Regions from separate parts of the Homo sapiens genome. Here region 2 is linked to region 1. The links are contacts of gene promoters, found by promoter capture Hi-C in blood cells and fetal thymus (Javierre and others, 2016). All regions are on one chromosome and are shown on one strand. The core of a region is centred on a gene start or on the middle of the fragment in contact, and the rest is flanking DNA. Distances in the headings are between cores, read along the strand shown. Region 1 holds the start of EGFLAM-AS1 (EGFLAM antisense RNA 1). Region 2 overlaps OSMR-DT (OSMR divergent transcript).

The links. Contacts are between HindIII fragments. The CHiCAGO score rates a contact against its expected background, and 5 or more counts as called.
Region 2: a contact is called between a fragment that was not itself captured here and the fragment with the promoter of EGFLAM-AS1 in region 1, in 1 of 17 cell types (M1 macrophages). The highest score is 5.2, in M1 macrophages.

The regions. Positions count from the first base shown.
Region 1 is chr5:38,424,581-38,431,282 of GRCh38, forward strand. It overlaps EGFLAM-AS1 (EGFLAM antisense RNA 1), which reads right to left and starts at 2,796. Exons shown (of 2, transcript NR_046737.1): 1 at 2,512-2,796; 2 at 275-501. EGFLAM (EGF like, fibronectin type III and laminin G domains) reads left to right here. Exons shown (of 22, transcript NM_152403.4): 13 at 387-512; 14 at 2,429-2,672; 15 at 6,597-6,702. It also overlaps the pseudogene LOC124901186. RefSeq lists an enhancer at 2,018-3,217. The HindIII fragment of the contact is 14,108 bases long and covers 1-5,717 here.
Region 2 is chr5:38,759,824-38,766,525 of GRCh38, forward strand. The region is part of intron 2 of OSMR-DT (OSMR divergent transcript); the gene reads right to left. It also overlaps the pseudogene LOC100132789. Among named protein-coding and RNA genes, the nearest start is that of LINC01265, 43 kb to the left of the region's middle. RefSeq lists a silencer at 5,504-5,798. The HindIII fragment of the contact is 2,009 bases long and covers 3,218-5,226 here.

The DNA.
Region 1 (6,702 bases), core at 1,546-4,045:
TAACATAAACACCCTGTTGACATTGGAGGGATTGAAATATGCTCTGTTGGGAGCAAGAGAGAGATGAATTAAAGCAGAAACAGCTTAGTCATCCCAGTTAGTGGTCATAAAATTGCCCAGAAATGTATTATTTGATTTATTGTGTCCATCATGTTTTTTAAAGTCTCTATGGCTCTTCATACAGGACAAACCAAAATCAAATTAAAATGAAGAGCAGGTTCCACTTATCCTGAAAGCCCATTTGCAGTTGTGCAGAGCTGCAAATCAACAGGAGTAAGAACTGAAATGTATTTATTCAGAACCATGAGCTGCTGGTGGGGTCAGCGCCACTGTGTTGGACTGGCACACATGGAGGATTGGCTTTGTAATTCCCATTCTGTATTTAGGGGAATGCAGCAGTGGAATCTGTGATGAGGCCTCGTGCATCCATGGTGGCACCTGCACAGCAATCAAAGCCGACTCCTACATTTGCCTCTGTCCCCTTGGGTTTAAAGGTCGACACTGTGAAGATGGTGAGAAAGAAGCAAGTTGAAGGCGGTTTCTATCTGCATGTTAATTTGTGTAGATGTACTTTATCATCAATATAGTTTCTTTGTTAATTTGTTTGTTTGTTTTTGAGACAAAGGCTCCCTCTCTTACCCAGGCCGGAGTGCAGTGGCGCATCTCGGCTCACTGCAACCTCTGCCTCCCGGGTTCAAGTGATTCTCTTCTGCCTCAGCTCCCGAGTAGCTGGAACTACAGGCGCCCAGCTAATTTTTGTATTTTTAGTAGAGATGGGATTTCACCATGTTGCCCAGGCTGCTCTCAAACTCTTGACCTCAAGTGATCCACCCGCCTCGGCCTCCCAAAGTGCTGGGATTACAGGCGTGAGCCACCACGCCAGGCCTCATCAATGTACTTTTAACAAATCTAACAAAGCCCCATACATTTTTATGGGATCAACATTGCTTTGTTGGGAGAGATGGGGGAAACTTTTTAAACAAGGTTGGAGTGTCTCTGAGTGCCAAAATTTGTTTGGTAATGAGAACTCACTCATCTGATGTTGAGCCTTTCAGCACTTCTTACTGCAGGGCACCTCCGTCCCTCAGCCAAACATATGTTCATTTCAAGATGCTAAGAATCAGTGGGCTCCTCTTGGCCCTTGAATAACTTTTAAAAAGCCTGTATTGGTATGGTTTGTATCAGACTGAATTCAAAGCCTTTAAAGCTCAGGCTCATGCTCTTTAGAATTTCTGTCAATTTCTGATAAAAGATTGGGAAGATGAGGCCAGGCGCAGTGGCTCACGCCTATAATCCCAGCACTCTGGGAGGCCGAGGTGGGCGGATCACGAGGCCAACGTGGTGAAACTCCGTTTCTACTAAAAATACAAAAATTAGCTGGGTGTGGTGGTGCACAGCTGTAATCCCAGCTACTCGGGAGGCTGAGGCAGGAGAATTGCTTGAACCCAGGAGGCGGAGGTTGCAGTGAGCCGAGATAGCACCACTGTACTCCAATCTGGGTGACAGAGCGAGACTCCATCTTGGGAAAAAAAAAAAAGATAGGGAAGGTAGACACAGAAACGTTAACAATGTGATGGGACAAAAGTAACCTTTTTTTGTACTGTTCTACTAAATTATGCCACATTTTAATACTGTATATACAGAGAGTATGTAAATATATATACATGCACACACATGTGTATATAAACATGGAAACACATGCACACAAATACACATATGTGCGCTCACACAGGCAAATAATAACAGAAAATTTCAAAGATTTTGGAAAATCATGGAGGGTTCCAAAAGTGATTTTGGAAAATCATTTTTGCAGAATTCTGAAATTAAAATAAAAAGAAAATAAAACTGAGGCTAAGATCACAAAACTAGTCAAATTCTTCCCTAATTCAGATTTGGACCTAAGATACCATATTGGGGAAAACTTTTGTGATCTCAAATCTCATGTCACCTAAAAGAGGGCATGTGAGTCAGGGTAAGCCAATGCTGTTACATACCAGCTCATATTTCAGTAGCCTTACATAATCAAGGCTGGTTCTTGCTCATATTACAAAATCACTGCAGGTCAAAGATGGTGGTGAGAGAGGGGGTTCTGCTCCACACAGTTATACAGGGACACAGTTTCCTTCCATCTAATGGCTCTTCTAGGGCCTTAGAGTCCTCCACTGATACTTGCATCCTGCCAGCACGTGAGAGGAGAGAAAGAGCATGGAGGATGGAGGGAAGTTTTAGGGGCCAGACTTAGGGTGCTCTATGATTCTTCCACCCATGTTCTACTGGCCAGAATTCAGTCACACCACCAACCTAACTGCAGGGCTGCTGGGAATTGTAGTTTAGGTCTGTACCCAGGAGGGAAAGAACACAGCTATGGGTGCACATCTGGCCAGTTTCTGCCACAGAGGGATTTCTAACACCATGCTTGTTTTTTCAGCTTTCACCTTGACCATTCCTCAGTTCAGAGAGTCTCTGAGATCTTACGCTGCAACTCCCTGGCCACTGGAGCCCCAGCATTACCTTTCCTTCATGGAATTTGAGATCACATTTCGGCCAGACTCAGGAGATGGTGTCCTCCTGTACAGCTATGACACAGGCAGCAAAGACTTCCTGTCCATCAACTTGGCAGGGGGCCACGTGGAGTTCCGCTTTGACTGTGGCTCTGGGACCGGTGTCCTCAGGTGAGGGCTGAAAACTTCTGGGACTCTTTCCCTTAAAAAGGCAAATAGTAACTGCTTCAGAAAAAAACCAAATCGCCATTCAACAGCTCACACTCATCCTGTCTTCTCTACATGCTTATCTTCTGAAACTTGTCCTGACTTGTCCTGCTTCAGGCAGATGACAGGCTTCCTATAGAGAGTGCTCTCCTGCCCACAAGGCTTCCTTTTCTCAAATAACTACCCAACAGGTAGCAATTGTATGCTTCAAACTATGGAAAATGGACTTGCTTCAGGTGGAGGTAAACTGCCTCCATTTCCACCTAAAGTTATGTCATGTCATCCGCAGAAACTTGATGAACTGTAACTAGTCAGCATCTCATACAGAGCATCACATGATGGGCACCCAGCAAATACATGTCAACTAGTAAAAAAGTATTAACAAATATTTTTGAACAAAAATATCCTTGATGACCTCACTCTAAATATTCACTTTCCTCTTGAACTATTTCTTTAATGGAAATTGACAGTGAATCATCAGCAATGCAGAGACCCGTTCCCTAAGCAATATGCTCAAGAAAGATGTGTGATGAGTGGTTTCAATAGCATAGCAGGAAATGGGTGCTTCTGCAGTACTTGCTGGTATTTGCAGAATTGGTGTAAGTAGTCAAAACTTTCCTACTGTTATCTAGTTTGTACTATTAAATTACTTAGCAGGTCGATTGTTCCTTGGAGCCTGTAGTTGGTAGATGCAGACGCTTTTATTTGTTTATGTCTCCCATCTTTTTATTGTGTTGATGGTAGTTTTAACCTTCAAGCCAGAGGGGCCACTAATCGCATGCAGACATGCTTCTTGTTCCTACATTTGTCTAATTCGTCTTTTTTGAAACTCACTAGGATGTTTTGCTCCATGGTGCCCTGTAACAGGGTATCAGTTAGTCTGTTGTTTCAAAGAATATTGCAAACTGTTTTCAATCTTTATCCATATTGCTAGACTGTCATGTTTAAAAAGAGTATGTAGGTGAGATGCTACAACCATGCATTGCCCTTAACTACTGATCATTTTTCCTGGCTGATAGAAAATGCTCACTGCATTAGGTTTTAACAGTTCTTAAAAAGGATGGTTTGTTTTTGTCCTTGTGGCTGAATTCCTGCACATCAGTGACACCTTCCCCTCTAGGGGAACGGACAAATATTGTTGTACCTCTGGTTATGCAAAAACATCCTATATTTCAAGACAACTTTGGTGGGGATTTAATTGATTCAATTTACATATGATTATGCAAAATAGCCTAAGCAATTCACTTAGAACTGTATGTCAAGTTGACAAAGGAAGACACCTTGAATATCACCTTGCACTTTTAAATGGTTTTCTTCCTGGATAGGGAATGACCAGAAAGATCCAGGAGAGGTTCTGGGCTCATCAGCCCTCCTCCTGGACAGACTACCCCCTCCACACTGCCTCTCTGCAGTGGCAGCTCCAGCTGTGGGGTCACAAGCACATGGAACCCTTAGAAGTCCAGCATTTCTCTCTTTCATAACTCTGTGCTTATTTTTGACACGAGGTGCTTTTAATTTTTTTTTGTAAATTTACTAAGTTATTGTTTCACTGCCTGTCAGCAAAGGCAACTGGAAAAAGAATTTTTAAGAATTAGGTGATGAAAATGAGGCAAGAGTTTCTGAGGGACAAACCACCATCTGCCCCCTTATCCTATCCCCTCCTGAGCGTAAGCTAACAACAGTGATTACTCTTGGTGTTTCAGATGCCCCATTGGAAGCTGTTTATTTTGAAAACCATTTCAAAGACTTCTTGCTCAATTAAGACAATGCAGTGAAAACTCAAACTACAGGAAGTTGTGGAATTGGCCAGATCATTTTAACTTTAGGAATAGGATAAGATGGGCAAATTCATTATGAACTTGATTAAAAAATCACGACAATTGGAATGAGTTCTTGATGGCTGTGATCGATAAAAGGATGTTGAGGAAGGTGGCATATTGACAGCAAATGACCTCTGCAGTACAAAAACATGAAATGGCTCTGTTATGGAGATAGACCACTTAAAAAGGGCTGCTTATTTCTTTATTGCATATTGATTTAGCCAAGGTGATTAAATTCTAATTGCTAAGAACAGATCACAAAATCATTTGCCAAAGCAAAAATCAAGTGAGGGGGTGGTGACCTTTCAATAATTGTGCCCATTGGTATTCCTCATGGTTTTCTAAAGATGATCCAGGACCACAAGATAATTGGGAAGTTCAGCGAGGGCCAGGAACTAGACATTGCTAGAAATACAAATGCAATAATGAGTCTCTTTCTGCACACCTCACTATAAAACGTAATGAGTAAAACTTGCATAAATATCATTAAACTTTAAGCACTTCCACTTTGAATGAATAATTGAACTTTTAATGTAATTTTAATCATTTTTACAATATCAGAAAATATGGAATCTATTTCCCTCCCAATATTTTATTATGAAAAATTTCAAACATATAGAAAAATTGGAAGAATTGTACAGTAAGCATCCTGATACCGAGCACCTATAGTCTGTAATTAACGTTTTGCTATATTTGCCTCATCACATATCTAGCCATTATTATATCTGTCCATCCATCCTTCTTAATTTTTAAAAAAAAATTTTAATGACCAAAACAAAGTATCTAAAACTGCAGCTTCTCAAAGAACCACTTGTTCTTGCCCATCTGTTCCTCTCTTCAAACTTGACCTTGGCCTCCCATTGGGCCTTGTGGTTAAGAGCAGGGTCTCTGAAGACATCTTTATTGATAACAGTTTTGTCCAAGGGGATATCCGGTGGCTGTAGGGGCAATCTGACGTGCCATCATCAATGTTCTTCACGATGACAGCTTTGCGTCGGAGTAGCATCTGGCCAGGACCACCACCAGTTTCCCAGGTTTCAGGAACTTGCCCTTTTCAACAGCAACCACTCAGGCCTATAGCAGAAAGGTCCTTCTTATTTTTTATGCGTTTCAAAGTATGTTACAGACATTGGTATGCCAAATAATTTGTTTTTTACATCATAGCTCTTACAATTTTTCTCTTCTTCCAAGCTTGTGTGCAATTATGACCATATTTTATCTTCATGCCACCTCTCATCTAGAAAACCCATTTCACCAGACTCACTGAACCCCATTTCAGGCTCATTGTAAGGAATAAATAAAACAATAAATGCAATGTTCCTACTGTATGAAGGCATCCAATAAATAGTAGGTAATCCTGCTGTTGTTACTAAGCAGTAATTAGTGTTTTCTTTTTACTGAATGGATTGGTGTGCCTAAGGTTAGCATTAGTTTCCTCATGGCTAGATTGACAAAAATGATCCATAACATGCTAACCCATGCTTGGTTTCCTTCTATGTTCATCAGGGTTCTCCAGGGAAACAGAACCAATAGGCTATAAATAGACATGTAGAGAGATTTATCATGAGGCATTGGCTTGCATGATTATGGAGGCTGAGAAGTCCCCTGGCCTGCCATCTGCAAGCTGGCAGCCCAGGAAATTTAGTGGTGTATTTCCAGTCCAAGCCTGAAGGCCTGAGAACCAGAGAGCCCATGATGTCCGTTCCAGTCCAAGTCAAAGGCCCAAGTACCAGGAAGCTGATGATGTAAGTCTTGGTCCAAGTCTGAAGACCAAAGAACCAGGAGCACTGATGTTCAAGGCTAGAGAAGGTGGATGTCCCAACTCAAGAAGAGAGAGCACTTCCCCCCTCCTCTTCCTTTTTGTTCAGTTCAGAGCCTCCGCAGATTCCATGATGCCTGCCCAGGTTGGTGAGGGCAGATCTTTACTAAGTTTACTGATTCAGATGCTCATCTCTACCAGAAACACACTCACAGACACACCCAGAAATAATGTTGTACCAGCTATCTGGGCATTCCTTATCCTAATCAACTCGATACATAAAAATAATATCACATCTTCCTTCCACAGGAGTGAAGATCCCCTCACCCTGGGCAACTGGCACGAGCTTCGTGTATCTCGCACAGCAAAGAATGGAATCTTACAGGTGGATAAGCAGAAGATAGTGGAGGGAATG
Region 2 (6,702 bases), core at 2,972-5,471, 340 kb after region 1:
TATTATATATGTGATATATATGTGATATATATGTCATATATATTATATATGTGATATATATATATATCACATATATATGTGATGGCATACTACTCAGCCATAAAAAGGAATGAATTAACAGCATTTGCAATGAGCTGAATGGGATTGGGGACTATTATTCTGAGTGAAGCTACTCAGGAATGGAAAACCAAACATCGTATGTTCTCACTGATAGGTGGGAGCTAAGCTATGAGGATGCAAAAGCATAAGAATGATAGAATGGACTTTGGGGACTTGGGGGAAGAGGGGGAGGGGGTGAGGGATAAGAGACAACAAATATGGTGCAGTGTATTTGAGTGATGGGTGCACCAGGATCTCACAAGTCACCACTAAAGAACTTACTTATGTAACCAAATACCACCTGTACCCCAATAACTTATGGAAAAACAAAATAAAAAACAAACAAACAAAAAATGCCAGGACAACTGTAGACAAAGATCCAAAGCTACTATGTAGGTTTCTGCTGATGGGGAAAGAGGAGTGAGTGTGGGTAAAAGGGAGGGAAGGTGGAAAAAATGGGAAAAGAGAATGAGGAGTGAAAGGAGACAGGGAGAAGGTAAAGGAAGAAGAAGAGGAAGAAGAAGAAGAACAAGCAGAAGAACAAGCAGAAGAAGAAGAAGAAGAAGAAGAAGAAGAAGAAGAAGAAGAAGAAGAAGAAGAAGAAGAAGAAGAAGAAGAAGAAGGAGAAGGAGAGAAAAAGAGTATGAGAGGGAGATAGAGAAAAGATAAGGGAGCGGAGAGGGAGAGAGGAAGGAAAATGGAATAAGTAAAGATGAGGAGATGTATTAATAGTTCAGACTTTCAAAGAACAACAGAGGAGTCTACAACACAAGCAAAATGGACTTTTGAAGGCTTAATCATCTATGTTAATTCTTGATAATAACCAAATAGCAAAGCACTGCCAAATATCTGCATCAAGGGGTGCCTATAAAAAACCTAAACACCAAAGATCTCAAATATTAAATATTCTGCCCTGTAATGTTCATAAAAATATGCATACTTAGCAGATAATGGGATCTTGATTTGGCCTTGATTTGGGGTAAGTATATGTTTGGAACCAGAAATATGTTTGCTCATTGTCAGTCATGTCACATTTTACACATCTCAGAAATTATTACGCATGGGAGAAATAGGAACAAACAGAGATAGACTGGGGCCACTCTTTTCTTTACAACTCCAGTTAGGGAGGATTTTTTAGCTATAATTGACTATGCTAAAACTGGACACTGAATTTTCAGAACATTCTATTTAAGAAGTCAGGAGAACATATCGTGCATCTTGGAAAAGTTTTATTGGCATCATTACATCTTTTTTCACTGTTTATGGGGGTAAATCTTCAGTTTGAACTGAGCTACCTAGACTTGCACATCCCTCCCGCATTTCCTCCAGGAGCTCCAGAGAGCCCAAGTTTTCCTTCATGTGTTTGTCATCAGAGTTAGAGAAGGCCCCAGAGATCTGCTAAATGGTGGGTCTGTTTGGTTAGGTTTTGGGGGCAATAGAACATTTCAACTTTCGTTGTTTACTTATCTTTCAAAAACATTCCTTGCTAGTCAAAAGATTCATATAATTAAAAAAAAACACAACAAATGAAGAAACTCATTTTGAAGCACATAGAAGTCATGGTTCAAATGTGTAATAATGTTCTATTGGTATTTTTCCTAAGTTTATAAACATAAATGCACTAATACTTATCATGTAAAAGTTAGAATTCTGGATCTACTAACCTAAGTTCAAATCTTAAAAAACCTATTTAAAGAAGGCATTTTAGTGAACTGGAAACACTAGATTAGATAACTTTACTTTTTGTTCATCTTATCTATTAAATAAGTATTATTTTTGGGGAAGTCATATGTTTATTTGTTAATTCCAGACATATTCTAATGAGCACTTAGTATGTGCCATACTCTGTACTAAAATGAGGATATAGAGATGAAAGCCTCCTTCATGCCACCCTGTAATTCCTGACAGAATGTAACTAAATTGTAACAAATTATTTCAAAGCTTACTGCCAATTTTCTGACTCTGAACATTCAACTATGAACTCCATGAGGGAAGGGACAACACATGGCACATGGTATTTATTCAACAAATATTCATCAGATGAATTAATTTATCATAATAAATTAACATTTACATAACACTTTCATCCATTATCTTATTTAACCCTCACAATAACCCTGTGAGATAGGTCCTATTCTCACCATTTTATAGTTGAGGAAACTGAGAACAAGAAACATTAAGAAACTTGCTGAAGGTCACAAGCAGAACTGGGATCAAAACCCAGGCAATCTGGTGTCAGAACTATATTCTTATCCACTATACTATACTGCCTATGAATGTACCACTAAGTAAATGGATGAGTAAATAAATGAATTTAAATAATTTACAGCCTCTAAGCTTTAGGATCGTTAATTGCAATATAAGAATATTGGACTAGAATCAGTGCTCCTCAACTTTTCCACCAAATTTTAATCCACTGTCTTTTAATTTAATCACTTTACCAGATTATCATCAGGCGCTGTCTACTTACTAGTTCCTGACGAGCAGGAATGGTTCACGCTAGTGGCCCGTATGCCACTGATACGCCCTTACATTTCTGTTCCTGCTACTTGAGTCATATTATCCCCAAAACTGTTTGTGTCTTTTGTACTTACATAACATGACTTAATTAAATATTATTTAAATGTAAAGAATATGAGTACAAAAAGAAGTAGAGCTGGTATTTCTATGAAAGCTGAACTAACAAGGTGGTTGATATGCAAGGATAGATTCTTGTCTGTATGTTTAACATATTTTGAAATGAATAGTGAATGTGGAAACACTAAATTAAATGGCTTGGAAATTTATGATTAATGCAAGTCATTAAAAAATTGCTTCCAGTAATGTGTTTATGAGATGACTTTTAAAGAATTGTAGAACATTTTGAGGGACTTTTCAGACCATTTGCTTTTCTAGTGGCTTGAATTTCTCACATGGACAATGCACTTAGAACTATTATGAGCAAGAAAGACAATGGGAAATGACAATCGATGAACCCATTCTCATAGAAATCCCCTTAGACATCAAAAGACAAGGGGGTGAAAATACATTTATGTTTTTTAAGATAAAACATTTCAGGCAAGTACATGTCATTTTCTATGATTCCCTTATTTAGTCAATATTTTAGTGGCTATTTTGAAGCTTTATGTTTTACCCTAAAGATTTTAACTTTGCACCCTACTCTGTGGTAGCCATTAATACTGTTCACCAAATCTTTCTCATTACCATTTGTGTACATATTGTTTAAAATCGGTGAATTTCTAGGCTAGGTTCTGGTAACTGAAGGGCTTTTATAAGTACTGTATATTGTCTATACCAAAGGAATGCTGCAAACACAGTCTGGAGCAAAATGGGAACCAACATGTAAGAGATAATATTGAGTATCAACTTGATTGGATTGAAGGATGCAAAGTATTTTTCCTGAGTGTGTCTGTGAGGGTGTTGCTAGAGGAAATTAACATTTGGGTCAGTGGATTGGGAGAGGCAGACCCATCCTCAATCTGGGTGGGCACCATCTAATCAGCTGCCAGCGAGGCTATTAGTAAAGCAGGCGGAAGAGTGTAGAAGGACTTGAGTTGCTGAGTCTTCCAGCCTTCATCTTTCTCCCGTGCTGGATGCTTCCTACACTCGAACATCAGACTCCAAGTTCTTCAGCTTTTGGACTCTTGGACTTACACAAGTGGTTTGCCACGGGGTCTTGGGCCTTTGGCCACAGACTGAAGGCTGCACTCTCGGCTTCCCCACTTTTGAGGTTTTGGGATTCGGACTGGCTTCTTGCTCCTCAACTTGCAGACGGCCTACCGTGGGATTCACCTTGTGATTGTGTGAGCCAACACTCCTTAATAAACTCCCCTTCATATATACATCTATCCTATTAGTTCTGTCCCTTTAGAGAACCCTGACTAATACACAACATCTTTCTAAAGTCAGGCTTAGAAATTCTAATCCAGTAACTTAAGATGTTTCCTTTCTCTGATAACAGAGTTGATTCATATCTGGCTTCTAAGCCACCATTCATAGGTATAGTCAAGAAAAGACCACCAAAAACAAGACCAACCAATCCACCTCATTTTATGGTATGGGTTTCAAATTCCAATGACCTCAATTCAAAGGTAAATTTACAAAACTTCTGTAAAATACATGTACTATCAGAAATGGGTTCTCTGCCATTGGTGAGCCGACAGCTATATGAGCCTGTGTCATGTTCAAGATGCATAGAAAAAGACTGTTTGCTATTAGGCCACGGAGAACAGCATTAAGTTCAACATATATTGATCCATGTTCAAGTAGTTTCCTTTCTGCTTCTGGAAGCTGGTTAATTTTTCTAGTTATGATGCCTAAAATTACGTTTTCCTTGAAAGTGCTATCTGGCTCCTGATTTTCCATCTTGAGCCTTATATTCTCCTTCCTCCAGGTTCCAGTGCCTGTCCAGGTCTTCCTCAGACATGCCAGGGCTCACTACAACTTTTGTTCAACTCACCTGAGTGCAGCCATCTTTGGCTGACAGGTGACTCTACTGTTTACCAAATATTTCTAGTTCTTCTGGACACATGGTAGGATTGCCCTTCCCTGCCCCGCTTTGAAAATAGCTGGGTCAAACGTGACATGATTTGACCAATGAAGTGTGTGTGTGGAAGTGACATATTCTACTCCCAGGTGGGAGTATTAAGATCTAGCTCATTATTTCCTCTGGATTTACTGTTGTCTTTTTTTTTTTAGTGGGGGACAGAGTATCACTCTGTCCCCCAGGCCAGAGTGCAGTGGCGCAATCTCGGTTCACTGCAAACTCCACTTCCCGAGTTCACGCTATTCTCCTGCCTCAGTCTCCCATGTAGCTGGGACTACAGGTGGCCGCCACCACGCCTGGCTAATTTTTTGTACTTTTTTTTAGTAGAGATGGGGTTTCACCCTGTTAGCCAGGATGGTCTCGATCTCCTGACCTCATGATCTGCCCACCTCGGCCTCCCAAAGTGCTGGGATTACAGGTGTGAGCCACCGCGCCCGGCCTACTGTAGTCTTTTCTTCCACTAAGGCAATACGTAGAGGTCTAGATAAAGGCTTCTCTGTTCATCTGAATCATGGAATGAAGAATGCTAGGAACTCAGCCCCCAGCTGACCCTGACGGATGTGTAGCATAAACAAGAAATAAGCTTTGCTGTTTTAAATCACTGAGATTGAAATTTTTGTTAGTGTTGTCAGAGTATACATAATCCATGATATATGTGTACTTGTTTACATATATAAACGTATCCTCCCCCTTCCCATCAAATTTTAAGATAATTTAGCAATCCAGAAAGACACACCACATTTATCTGGTGACTGTGTACACTGCCCATAGTTTTTTCCCAATTTGAGAAGCATAGAACTAGTTGTTCTTCAGGATCCCTTCAAAAGCTAGCGTTATGTCATGCTATGTATGAGGAGAGAACAGGCACCATGTCACTTAACTAAACCAAATACAATTAAATTAATTTGATTGGAGAGCTGTTCTATCTGATTGTGGGGCAATTGATTCGATTGCTATAGAGTCCATTGGATTTGGTTGTTAGCGTCTCAGTTGTCTTAATGAGGGGATCGGATTGCACAGTGATCCCACTGATTGTTTTGGCAGTTGGCCTACCAACTGTTGGCCAGTCAGCCAGAGCCACAGTTTGACCCCAGGACAGGATGTAAAATTAATTTGCTTGAATGCAACGTTCAAGCATTTTTCTTGGTAAGCTGGTATGTGTCAAGTACTATCATATAATAAATTATACTTATCAACTGCAAATATTTAAAATTTACATTCTTCCTTGTATACATGCCACCAAGAACTCTAAATATTTTACAATGCTATGCACTGTGGGCCAAGCTTAAGTTTTAAACTCTGTGCAGACCTCCGCTTCTCTGAAGAGCTTCATTCCAACATTCCTTAGGGTCAAAAACTGACCATTGCTTGCCATTAATAACAACTGATTCTGATTCCATCATTTAAAATGAAACTATTTATGCAATGGTGGAAGAATGAACTCTACACTCCAGGAGACCAATGATTTGTCTATTCTATTCACTATTGTGTGCACTCAAACAATGCCTGGGCTTGTTGTAGATGCTGGCTACCTATAGTATCTGAAGATATTGGATGAATAAGTGAATAAACAATTAACTAATAATTCAGAAGCACCAAAATTTCTTAATTTCAGCTATTTTCTAGAAGTGAGGAAAGTGCTTTTCTGAATATGTGAAGCAGTATAACAATGATTAAATGTTTTGACTTGGGAGTTAGTTGAGTCTGAATTTGATTTCTGATTGTGATGTTGTTGCAGATTGCACTTCACAAAGATGCTTACAATGACATTTCCCATTCCACACACTCTTTCACAATATGGACTTGATACTCACCCATCCTGAGATAGTCAGTTTCTCTACTCTTGGTAACCTGAATCTGGGTCAATCTTTTGATTAAGTTTGAGCAACTTAATTCAGCAGAAGTGATGATGCACCAGTTACAGACATAGCTCTTAACTGATCTGGCAACTTTTGCTTCCTGCCTCTTGGAAGCCAGCCGCCAGATAAAAATTAGAATCCTCTGATATTTCAAGATTCTGGTTGGATTGCTGGATGGATAATGAAAACAGAGAAAAG